Linked DNA regions of Homo sapiens: regions 1 and 2 are each linked to region 3. The links are contacts of gene promoters, found by promoter capture Hi-C in human tissues and cell types (Jung and others, 2019). All regions are on one chromosome and are shown on one strand. The core of a region is centred on a gene start or on the middle of the fragment in contact, and the rest is flanking DNA. Distances in the headings are between cores, read along the strand shown. Region 1 has its middle 15 kb from the start of CCDC59. Region 2 overlaps METTL25 (methyltransferase like 25). Region 3 holds the start of PPFIA2 (PPFI scaffold protein A2).

The links. Contacts are between HindIII fragments. The study calls those that stand out against the background at their distance.
Region 1: a fragment that was not itself captured here is called in contact with the fragment with the promoter of PPFIA2 in region 3 in 1 of the 25 tissues and cell types used here (dorsolateral prefrontal cortex).
Region 2: a fragment that was not itself captured here is called in contact with the fragment with the promoter of PPFIA2 in region 3 in 1 of the 25 tissues and cell types used here (lymphoblastoid cells).

Annotation. Positions count from the first base shown.
Region 1 is chr12:82,341,609-82,345,492 of GRCh38, forward strand. No RefSeq gene overlaps it. Among named protein-coding and RNA genes, the nearest start is that of CCDC59, 15 kb to the right of the region's middle. The HindIII fragment of the contact is 4,522 bases long and covers 1-3,884 here.
Region 2 is chr12:82,364,044-82,367,875 of GRCh38, forward strand. The region is part of intron 1 of METTL25 (methyltransferase like 25); the gene reads left to right. Among named protein-coding and RNA genes, the nearest start is that of METTL25, 7.4 kb to the left of the region's middle. The HindIII fragment of the contact is 3,139 bases long and covers 1-2,893 here.
Region 3 is chr12:81,757,377-81,761,249 of GRCh38, forward strand. PPFIA2 (PPFI scaffold protein A2) reads right to left here and starts at 1,974. Exons shown (of 33, transcript NM_003625.5): 1 at 1,904-1,974; 2 at 1,024-1,131. RefSeq lists an enhancer at 834-1,772. The HindIII fragment of the contact is 8,978 bases long and covers 967-3,873 here.

The DNA of each region.
Region 1 (3,884 bases), core at 929-3,428, 580 kb after region 3:
ATTGGAACAGCAGAATACTGCATACTGATAAACTATTTCAACCAACAGCAAAGAAAAATTCTCATTTTTCATATTAGATTAGTGGTTTCTAATTTCCTAGAACAGTACATACGTCTTACTGGTAAAATTTCTATGTATACAAAAAGGTTGTAGGCATGACTCATCTGAGTGGTCCACTTTTTAGGCTACTAATGTAAAAATATCCCTATAAAATTGAAGAATGCAGATAAGACTTCAGAATTGATGATAGAGCATATACTCTTTAAGGAATATATGAATATCCATAATTATAGATCATAATTATTCATATTGCAGAATACATCTCAAAAATTTTTAAGTGGCTAGCAATGGGTTATTGTAAATTGTAAGCCTCTTTTCTCTTATTCAAAACTTTGATTTTCTTCTTACTCTATTAATAAAGCATACCAAACATAAATTTGCCTAGAAATGCAGTTTGGGAGTAAGAATGTAATGAATGAATTTACCAGTAGTTTATCATGTTTAACTAGGGAAAACAGTCATTGTGAATGTTTATAACTTAAGATGATACATGAGTGCCAACTTGTACATAGATGAAGACAAAAGAAATCCAAAATACCATTTTCAACATGCAAGCATAAAATGCTAGTCACACAAAAATGCCAATGCTTTTAAAATAAATTCACTTTTTAATCTACATTTAAAAGCATAAAAATTAACCTTCAAAATGTATAGCCACAGTGACTCAAGTAGAATTTCCAAAAGATGTTTTCTTAAGGATGGCAAGAGGGAATGAATGGTATTAAAGATGCACTTGACTTTCTCCACTGCTGTGAACAGATAATTTGAGGCCTACTCAGGTGTAAATCTAACAAACTCAATACTTTTTAACCCAAGCAAGGTTCCTCTACTTGTTTTTCTATTCCTGTTGTAAAATTTTATACATGATACATAAAACATATATATTATGTATATGTGTGTGTATATATGTATATATGTGTATATGTATGTATATATACATATATATGTATATATGTGTGTATGTATATATACATATATGTATATATGTGTATGTATGCATGTGTGTATATATATACCTATACACACATATATATGTATGCATATGTATATAATATTGGAGGCTCCCACAAAAGAAACTTAGAGAAGGAGAGATAGAGTAGATCCTCTATATCCCCAAGATCCTGAACCATCTCTGTTCTGTATTAGGAAAGTAAAGTTTCTCAGTGATGTTCTGGGGATGGCTATATCTGAGTTTGTGGATTAAGTAAATACTGAGCTGGCTGGATTGTTTGTGTGGGGTATTTTATACTACCTAAGCTCCTCTGCTGTGTGAGTTCCCTAATTTGGGATTATAGCATTTGGCTGACTCTGCTTTGTAGGTGATGTGTCCAAGGCGTCAAACTTCATCAGTTCCTTCCTGTAGTTTTTCCTCTATCCCAGAGGAGAAGATTTGACCATAAAGAATTTAGTCAACTCTAGGATATATCATCATTTAAATATCACCATATATCAGAAGTTCAGCCATGGAGTTGTTTCATTGAGATAATAATTTTCTGAAAGGTATACAGCGACATTGTATTGCTATAAACAAAACAAGTCGAAATTTTCCTTGAACTAATGAACCCACCTGGCCAGTGATGAACTATTTTTGATGGACAAAATATTTCTTTGCCATCTCTAATAGATCCTGTCAATCTGCAAGACTGACATAAGGAAGGCTAAATGACTAAGCCTAATCAGTTAGCAGGTAATAGCTAGTAAGCTGCAGTTCCACAAACCCAATTGGAATAGGGAGGAAGGAGTTACTTACAAATCAATCTTTAAGACTTGCACTAAAGACTTTTTGTCTTATTTCCCTTTATTACTTTGATATTTTTCGTTTCTCAAATATTGCTGAAACTGACATATTTGTGATGAGAACTATTGTTTTTAGCCCCTGAAACTGAGTTATAACAAAGTTTGTCCCCATTCAGACCACATGACTTGTGTAATTTTCAATCAGGTAAATTGGGCCTCTTCAGAGAATCACAAGAAAGGTTTCACAAACCTCAAGTGGATTATGACCACTGGGGACTAGAGCCATCACAGATGTGGAATAACTGGAATTACAAGGGACTGGTAGTATGGAGATATTCTGTGTATGAAAAAGAAAGTTTTCATATACACAGTCATTTTTGCAATACAAATGCACAGGCTGTCACTATGTATTCTGAATATACAGTACTAAGAACTGAATGTGGTTAAGTGCTGAGAAAAAAAGAATGATCTCATGATATTTAGGCTAAATCACCAAAGAATGCCAGAATAATAATTATTAAAAGGGAAAGGTTTCCTAAGGAATTCATTCTGCTGTGTTTTATTTTGTTGTCTCAGGGACAGAAGATGATACCACTGTCATCTCCTTGGTTCAGGGTTATTGGGCAGGATGACTGTCTCTTAAAGTTGTCTGCTTCTGAAGGCTTTTGATGTAGCCTCAGTTTAATATCTCATGTGAAAGAAACCTACTGATTTGGGTTGGCAGTTGTTTCCACAGTGACACAGAAGAAACAAAAACGGTGTCCCAGCAATGTTGTAAAGCATTTTTACATTGATGTGTTATGCATTGTGTATCCTCAAAAAAATACATTGGAGTTATATCCTCCAGGACCTCAGAATGTTACTTCATTTGGAGATATAATCTTTACATATGAAATCAAATTAAAATGCAGTAATTAGGGTAGACCCTAATTCAATGACTGGTGTCCTAATAAAAAAGAAAATCTGGGCACAGAGACATACACACAGGAAGAATAACATGTGAAGACTGGAGTTATGATGCCATAAGCCAAAGGAATTACCAGAGCCAGAAGAGAATCCTGGAACCAATCTTTCCCTGTGACGCATCTTCAAAGGGAGCATGGCCCTCCTTACACCTTGATTTTGGGTTTCGGACTTCTGGCCTCCAGAACAGTAAGACAATACATTTTTGTGTTTTAAGACACTGACCTTGTAGTACTTTGTTATTGTAGCCCTAGGAAACTAATACAATATGTCTTCTAAATGACACACTTCTTGGGTTGGAGGTCATGCAAAATGTTGAGTTGTTTCCTTTGAAGAGGTAGCTCATCCCTGCTGTGCATAAGACTGAGTAAAGGAGGTTAGTTTCTGACACCATCCAGGTAGGTCTGCATGCATCAGTAAAGTTTTTCCTAGTGGTGGAAGGTGTCTTGTAATGATCTTATAGAAAGCCCATGGGAGCTCTGAGGAGAGGACTACATGGTTATTAATGATAGTGGGAAAATGTAGACCTGGGAAAATTAAATGTTTATGAAAATTTGGACAGTGTCATCTTCAGTGTCTCCTTTACTCATTCTACTTCTCTTTAAGACTGGGGTAATGCTAACAGTGAATTTTCTGGGTTAGTGGAAAGATCTAACAGAGTTTCTTTATGCTTATTCTCATGAAATGAGTATTTCCGTTTGGGAATGTATGGTTTAATATTTTAACAACTGTGACAGTGTTAGCTCTTTGGCAAGGAAAAGCATCTATCCAGCCAGAAACTTTTACCAACAATAACTAATGTGTATACATAGCCTAAAGATTTAGGCAGTTGTATAAAGCCTATCTGCAAAACCTCAAGAGTCTTGAGTAGAGGAACTGAACCATGCCTCACCTTAACAGATGTACCTGGATTATGCTTGTTATCTACCATTACTTATTTAATGCAAAAGTAGTTTTTTTAATTCTATAACGTGAACAATCATAGAATAATCTGACCTGGGTTCATTGGTGGGATTGTGGTGCTATGGGGCACTAAATCCCAAAATTGCCAAAATCTATCTTTATGGAAAGGGGATCCCCAACTTTGCCTTTCAGAAGGTTGAGCTAATCACTGTAAGTCAACC
Region 2 (3,832 bases), core at 74-2,573, 610 kb after region 3:
ACACAATTGTATTAATGTTATGTATTATCTATTGCTGCATAACAAGTGGTTTAAACCTATACTATCTCATCAGTTTTTGTGGGTCAGGAATTCAGGAGCAGATTAACTGGGTGGATCTGGTTTGGGATCTTAAGAGGTCACAGTCAAGAAGTTGGCTGGGGCTGTAGTTGCTGAAGGCTTGATTGAGGCTGAAATATTTGCCTCTGTGATTATCTCATTCACATAGGTGGCCATAATATTTCATTCGCATAGGTGGCCATAATATCTCATTCACGGAGGTGGCTAGTTGGTGCAGGCTGTTGGCATGAGGTCTCAGTTTCATACCATGTGAACTTTTCCTACGGGGATGCTTTTGTGGCAACTTTGTGTTTACATGACGTTCTTGTTTTTGTCTGCACTCAGACATGATTATGAAGTTGGCATGGTCACAAACCTTGTCTGATGTTGGTGTACTGAGAAATTTTTCATGTTTAGTAGGAAAGACTGTGGCCTACATGTTAGTTCAAGGTCAGCTATGAGCTGACATCTGTCTGTTACATCTGGGGTTTTTTCTTTCCTTTTTTAAAAGTAGGGATAATATTACCTACCTTCTAGGACAGCAAAGATTAAAGATGATGTATACATAGCACCTAGCATAGAACTGAGAATATAGCATGGGTTAATAAATTGTGGCTAATACATGATTGTGATGGTTGTGATGATGATTGGTAGTGATGGTATAATTAGGTCTTTACTTGGAAGAAATAAATTGTCCAGAGTTCCTGGAAGTTTATGTTCTAAACAAATATATTTTTTGCCATATTAATAAATAACATACTATTGTTATTGTCTGTTGGCTTGTCTGTATCTGCAACTAAATTATAAACTATCAAAAAACAAAGGTACAATGTTTGTCTTTTTCACTATTTTCAGCATCATAAACAGTTTCTGTTTATAGATGAGTAAATTAAATGATTCTATTTTTACATTAAAATTGTTTATTTTTAATTGGCAAATAAAAATTATGTATGTTTATTGTGTACATCATGTTTAAATAATTCTTGAAAGAATGAAGTTAAACATAGATCTAATAAAGAGTCTTATTGAAGGCACTCCTTGCACATACCTAGTACTCAACTAGACATATATTATTTCTGGTTGATCCCTGAGTTATATTTATGATCATTGTGTATGATAATAAATATTAGTTATATGATCCAACTAATAGATTTTTAAATTTATTTGAAGAGACACAAATCAATAACTGTTCTTTCCCTATGTGGAAATATAGTACTTTATTTAGTACATTACAGATTACAATAAAATACCCTGGGAATTTGGACATAAAATCAGAACAAGTATCACTTCAGGTTAAAATGTCTAAAAGTTAGTACATAATATAGGCGAGATTAACCATCTGCAGCAAAAAAGCCAGTAGAGACAGCTTCTAAATATTTTGCTGATAGGATAAATATGACCTATATCTTATTTTGGAGATTAAGATTTCATTATAGCTCCTTCAAGGAAACCAGACTGTGTTCTTGGGAAGTAATGACTGTAAGTGTAAATCTGTAACATTCTCAGCAGAATCATCATTGATCTTCAGAAATTAATTGTTGTTTAATGGAATCTAGAAAATTCTTCTGAAAAGCAAGAGGGGAGAGATAGTCTAAGTCAGGATAGCTAAAATATTTTATGAAACAGAAATAGATCAAAACAACAGAAGCAACTTAAGCAGCTTACTTAGCTTGCTGAAAATTTTAAGAATATCTGGCCTCGGCCGGGCGCGGTGGCTCACGCCTGCAATCCCAGCACTTTGGGAGGCCGAGGCGGGGGGATCACGAGGTCAGGAGATCGACACCCTCCTGGCTAACACAGTGAAACCCCGTCTCTACTAAAAATACAAAAAATCAGCCAGACATGGTGGCGGGCACCTGTAGTCCCAGCTACTCGGGAGGTTGAGGCAGGAGAATGGTGTGAACCCAGGAGGCAGAGCTTGCAGTGAGCCGAGACTGCGCCACTGCACACCAGCTTGGACAACAGAGTGAGATTCCGTCTCAAAAAAATTTAAAAAAATTTTAAAAAAAAGAATACCTGGCCTCATTTGTTCTCATTGTAATTCTAAAATTAGGAGACTATCCTAACAAATGAGTGTTACAGATTATTGTTATAGGTATATTTCTCAGTGGAAACTAATACATTTGTATTTCAAAGTCAACATCTTATAATGTTATTTAAATTAGCTGGGGATAGCCTAATGAACTCTCAGGAATTCCAGCTTCTGTGCCTGCCAAAGCATAGGGATCCTCTAAGGCACTGAGCCTCCAGGGACTTTCTCTTGACTTTTCTTTCAGTTTCTTGACGCCATATGCTGCTTCTCCTGTTTCACATTATTACTCAAATGATCCTACCAGGATTGGGTGCTGAGTAAATGTTTATAGAATCAGTTCCTTTTGGTGATCATCTGGTGTAATTATTTTACTACCATTTTAATTGAACAACACAGAAAGTGTATGTCCATGATAGATTATTCTTTTATCAAGCTTGTCTTTATTTTTTTTTTTTGCATCTTAATAAATTAAATGTTTTCTTGGCCATCCTAAGTAGTTTTTATTGTTGGTGGTGGTAGTAATTCGAATGCATTGAAATTGCGCTCATATTTAATTTGAAACACATGAAGGCAGAAAGTATGTTGTTGGAAACAGACAGTGAGAGCACAACGGAGAAATAATTAGTGTGTTCTGTTTTACTCTGCTGTATGTAACTTTTATTCATTCACTTTCCTTATATATTTTTCTGAATTCCATTTTCTCTTTTTCAGTTTTTCTGAGTCATTTTAGATTTCAAATGTAAAAATAATATTACATTATAACAAGATAGTGGCCAGTGTTAGCCCCATTCCAGGGGAACTTCTGTAATCATAAGTAAGAGAGAGCTGCAATGCAAACAAATCTTTGAGAACCAAGGATAATTTTTCTTTTTGTCTGTTTGAGATATAGAAAGTGTCTTCAGATTTTCCTTTTAAATAAAACTATTTAGAACTTAAATTTGTTTTCTAATTTTTAATGGTACCTCCTCCACTACTTTCCCCTTTCCCCATATCTTTCAATTATTAGAAGTTCAGTAAAACAGAGTTCATGGAGATTCCTTTCATCTGTTGCATTTTTCCTCATTCTACTTATATTATACTGTTTTCCTGTGTTTAGCCAATCATCATATATTTGGTTGCCTCTATTCGTTTGGATTTTTAAAATTTTATATCAAATCATTAAACTTTCCTTGTAAGCTTATAGTTATGGTTACCTGTTATCATCATTTATCATAATTTAAATTCTTTCCTTGGTTTTAAAAAAAACTTTTCTACATGATTTCATGCCTTCTGGAGTCTGTATTTATTTTGTTTACTCCTCATCACCTCAGTGGTTTAAGCATTCCTTCTATAAATGACATTATTATTCTTCCTGTTACCTCAGTTCATAATCCGCCAATTCCTCTTCCTCCATTACTCTTGCATTTGCTCTTTTTCATTCCCATAGAAAATAGTTCAGTGTCACCTCTCCTTTTTAAATCTTGCAACAGAATTTTTGTAATGGCTTCCAACCTGTTGTTCTTGCCTTTAGACTGTATTTCATTCATGTTGCCACTCAACAGCTTTCAGATTTATTGTCCAAAACCGTAGTTCTGATCTTGTCATTCTTCTGCTCAAAACCCATCAGTAGTTCTTCATTTCCTACAAAATAAAGTTCTTCACCTTTGGCCTTATCTTGTATCTGCTCTTCAGCTGGAACTTGGCTACTAATATAAACAAATAGGAGATAGCATGGAAAGAATATGGATTTTAGTGTCAGTCACA
Region 3 (3,873 bases), core at 724-3,223:
ATTTGCTTTTTCATCATTCCCCCCTCAAAGTCAATTTGATATATAAATTATGTTATCTTCATCTAGATATTGATGCTTTCCTCATTAAATTACTGAAGGTTTTGAAACCTAGTCAGAGACATTGTTAATTTTGTTGAGAAAGAAAAAAAGTAATAATAAATCTGATTGGCTTAATTATCCCAGTGCTTAAATTTAGCCGGAAGAATTTTATATCAGGAAAATAACTCCTTTATTCTTAGCACATAGCCTTGACTGTCTTTTAAATTTCTCAGATTTCAAAATAAAAGTTTGAATGCCCACTGGAGTCCTCACTCAAGGGCTTTCAAGATCCAATGTGTTCCTTAACAATATATGCCATCCAAGCAGTACCTCTTCAGATATGAGAGTGCTACAAAAAGCTTTTTTTCTTTTTTCTGTCAACAAATGACTTTATTTAATCATATCACTAGGAATTCGGCCCTACTAGAGGTAAGAATGTAATTATTATCCATAGTGAGTTTCTTCTGAAAACATTTAGTCTTAAGAACCATCCCAGCTCCACCTCAGTTAACCTACAAGGAGTAATTCAGTGAGAGAAATCCTAGCCATTGTCTGATTACATTACATGAATATTCTCCCTCCTATTTAACTCTTTGAAAGCCTCTGTCCTCGGGAAATATGATTATCACCTTTAATGGACACATTTTACACTTTCTTTACCCTAGTGCATTTACGGACAGCCAGAGCCAGCTCAACCCACACTACTGGACAGTTATCTCTCAGCCACACCCCCCACCACCTTGAAGAAGTTGACTTCATCATTTCCACACTAAAATTGTTCATCCTGCCCAACAGGACACAGCCAAGTAGGCAGGAGGTAGAGAGATAGGAGATGGAGAGGATGAGGTGAAAGCAAAAGGCACCTAACGGTAATCAACAAGGAGGAATTTGCATCTCATCTTCCCTGGGGGCGGGGTGGGGCCGGGGAGGTGGTCAAAAAATACAGCGAAAGGAGACAGTAAAACTCAAAGACAGCTTCTGTACCTAATGTCTGTGATTTCGGGTCCTTGCTTCTTCAATTGATCAATGACAACCGCAGTCTCCGGCTTGAGGAGAAGGGAGGCTCACACCCAGCACTCCTGGACCATTTCCCTAGCAACGGGAGGAGAAAGGCAGCTCAGACACACGCGTGCCCCGGCGCCCTCCCGGAACGTGCCCCGGCCCGGTGGCGTGGCAGGAGCTCGGCATCTTCCCGTGGCTCCGTCAGCAGCCAAAAGGAGAAGCGTCCATCGGAAAAATGGCATATTACAAATTTTGCTTTGGGAAGCAAAGCTCGGTTCAGACCATTGTCAAAGGAGGAGAGGGGGAGGCGGCTCTTAAAGCAGCCGCGGCCCCTTTGCCAGAACAGCCGCAGCTCCCCGCGTGCAGCTGGAGCCCCGGGGCGGAGACCGGAGACCGGGGACTGGGTTTGACTTTCAGAAACTTAACCACGCGGCGCCGCTCCCCCTCCGCGCCCGGGCCACCCGGGGTGTGTGGGGCGTCCCTCCAAAAGAAAGCTTGGAGAAAAGGCGTGAGAAGTATCTGGGAGAGAAGTTCTCCACCCAGTCTCCCCTCCTGGAGCCCCTCTGGAGTTTAAGGCTAACCCTGGGAGTTAGAAACCTAAAGGAAAACGAGTCCCTAGGGATGCAAAAAGCAGGACAGGTCTCCTCCTGGCCCCCAGCCTGTTTCCGCGCGCTCCCGTGTCTCGTTTCACTTAAAGGAGGCGCTTTTTCTCTGGAAAGGCAAACATCACCCCACGCCGTCCCCCGGCCCCCCTTCCCTCCCCCCCGCCGCCCCCCCGCCGCCACAGCACACACACCCATTTTTCTCCTCCCGGCCTTTCTGCAAGCCTCTTTGCTTGCTTCAATTGGCCGGAAGAACCAACCTGCTGGCAGCCGGTGAGGACGCTACAGCATCTTCTCTCCTCACTTGCCTCGTGCGGTGGCTGCTACTCCTCCTCCTCCGTCTCCTCCCCTCCTCCTCCTTGGCAGCCACCACCTCCTCTTCCTCTGGAACAAGGGCTTCCCCTGGAAGCTGCTGCAGTGGTTTCCACCGGCCCTTAAATAAATTCTGAAGTAATCACGTCTTTGCTCTCCTCCTCACGCACACGCGCCCGCGGATACACTCGTCTCCCCCAGAGCCGCTCCCGGGCTGCCGAGGCTCGCTCTGCTCCCAGTGCCCCCTGCGAAGGCGAGGGCCAGGGATGGGCAAAGTGGGAAGGGGGCACACGCTTCCCCGCCTGGGCTTCTTTCACACAATGGGCTCTACAGCCTTCGCTTGTGTCAGCCTGCGCTGGTGGGGATGGGAACGGACTTGGGCACCTTTTGGCTCCCCGGTCTTCTGTGCTTGTCATTTCTTTAAGCAGCTTTCTTCCCACTGGGCCAGGGCATGGTAGTCATGGTTGTAGGGACCTGAGCCAATCTAGGGTGTGGCGGCATCTGTCATTTCTCATTACCTCTTCAGTTCTTCTTCATTCATATTGTTTTGGTAATGGGAATTGTATGTTAAGTATTCCCTGCCCGAGTAAATTTTAGCTTTGAGCAGAGTCTGGTCTCTCCATCGCGCTCCAGTCCCCCTTATATCTCCACCTCCCTTTACCTACCCTCTTTTCTTTCCGTTGCTGCTGTCCATTCATACAGACTGAGGAAGCAGGAGACAAAATCAGTACCTACTCTGAGCAGAAAGGGAACGTTTCTGTGAGGGAGAGTCACGAATCCTGCTGGGTTTGGTGAAAATGAAGAGGACATGCATGAAGGAATTGGAGGATTAAACACTGAATATATTTTGGGGGTTACTGAAAATATTCTGAGTGTGCTACACGAAAGCCAAAAGACGTGTTTTACTTTTGTGTAACGCCAAGAGTCCAAAGTTAACAAAGAACTAGTATGTAAATAACTGTTCACTTAAAATTAACTACAATATCCAAGAAACAATCTTTGTTTCTGAGGGAAGTATTTAATTCAGTTAGCGACTTTACAATGGAAAGTGGGGTAAAGCTCATGTATTTACCCAACTTCTATTCTAGACTGTTATTTAAATTTTACAACACAACACAATCCTATAAGAAGTATAAAAATAATACGAAAATTCATTAGATGTCAACTGGAGCACTATTTCTCAGACATAATGTGCATACAGATCATCCATGGATCTTGTTAAGTTGTAGATACTGATTCACCAGGAATGGGGTGAAACCTGAAATTCTACCCTTCTAATGACTCCCAGATGGTACTACACTTGAGGAGGAAGGGTCTAGACCACCCAATCGACCCACAATTTGATGTGGCTTAAATACCCCTAACTACAGGAAACTCTTCACCTCACAGGATAGCCTAGTCTATTTTCAGACAAACTTCATATTGTAATAGCTTCAACATACTAATCATATATCAGTACTCATAACTTTCACTCTCTAGAATTCTACACAAAACATAAAAATTCCTTATACATGAGAGATATTCTTATTTTTACATATAGCTATTATGTCTATTTTTACAAGAATTCCTTCCTTATTAAACCTTGGTTTGAATTTCCTTGGCAATCAACGTTTGTTAATTACTGGCTCAGATGTTCCTACTGTTTCCAAGAAGAGTTTTGATTTCCTTGAGTCCCATTCGTATGTCAAATACAAGTTTTAATTGTAAGTATAATCCCCACATACAGTTGACACAGCATAGTTAAAGGCTAACCCATGGTAGGTATCGCAGAAAGAAAAACTTTGATAATGGGAGGCAGAAAAAAATATCACGAGTTAAAGGATATTTTGTTAAGAAGATACAGTCTTCATAGTAAATTTCAGCTGAAAAACTTGACATTATCACTGCTAACTTCACTGCAAAGAGTGTAAATAATATA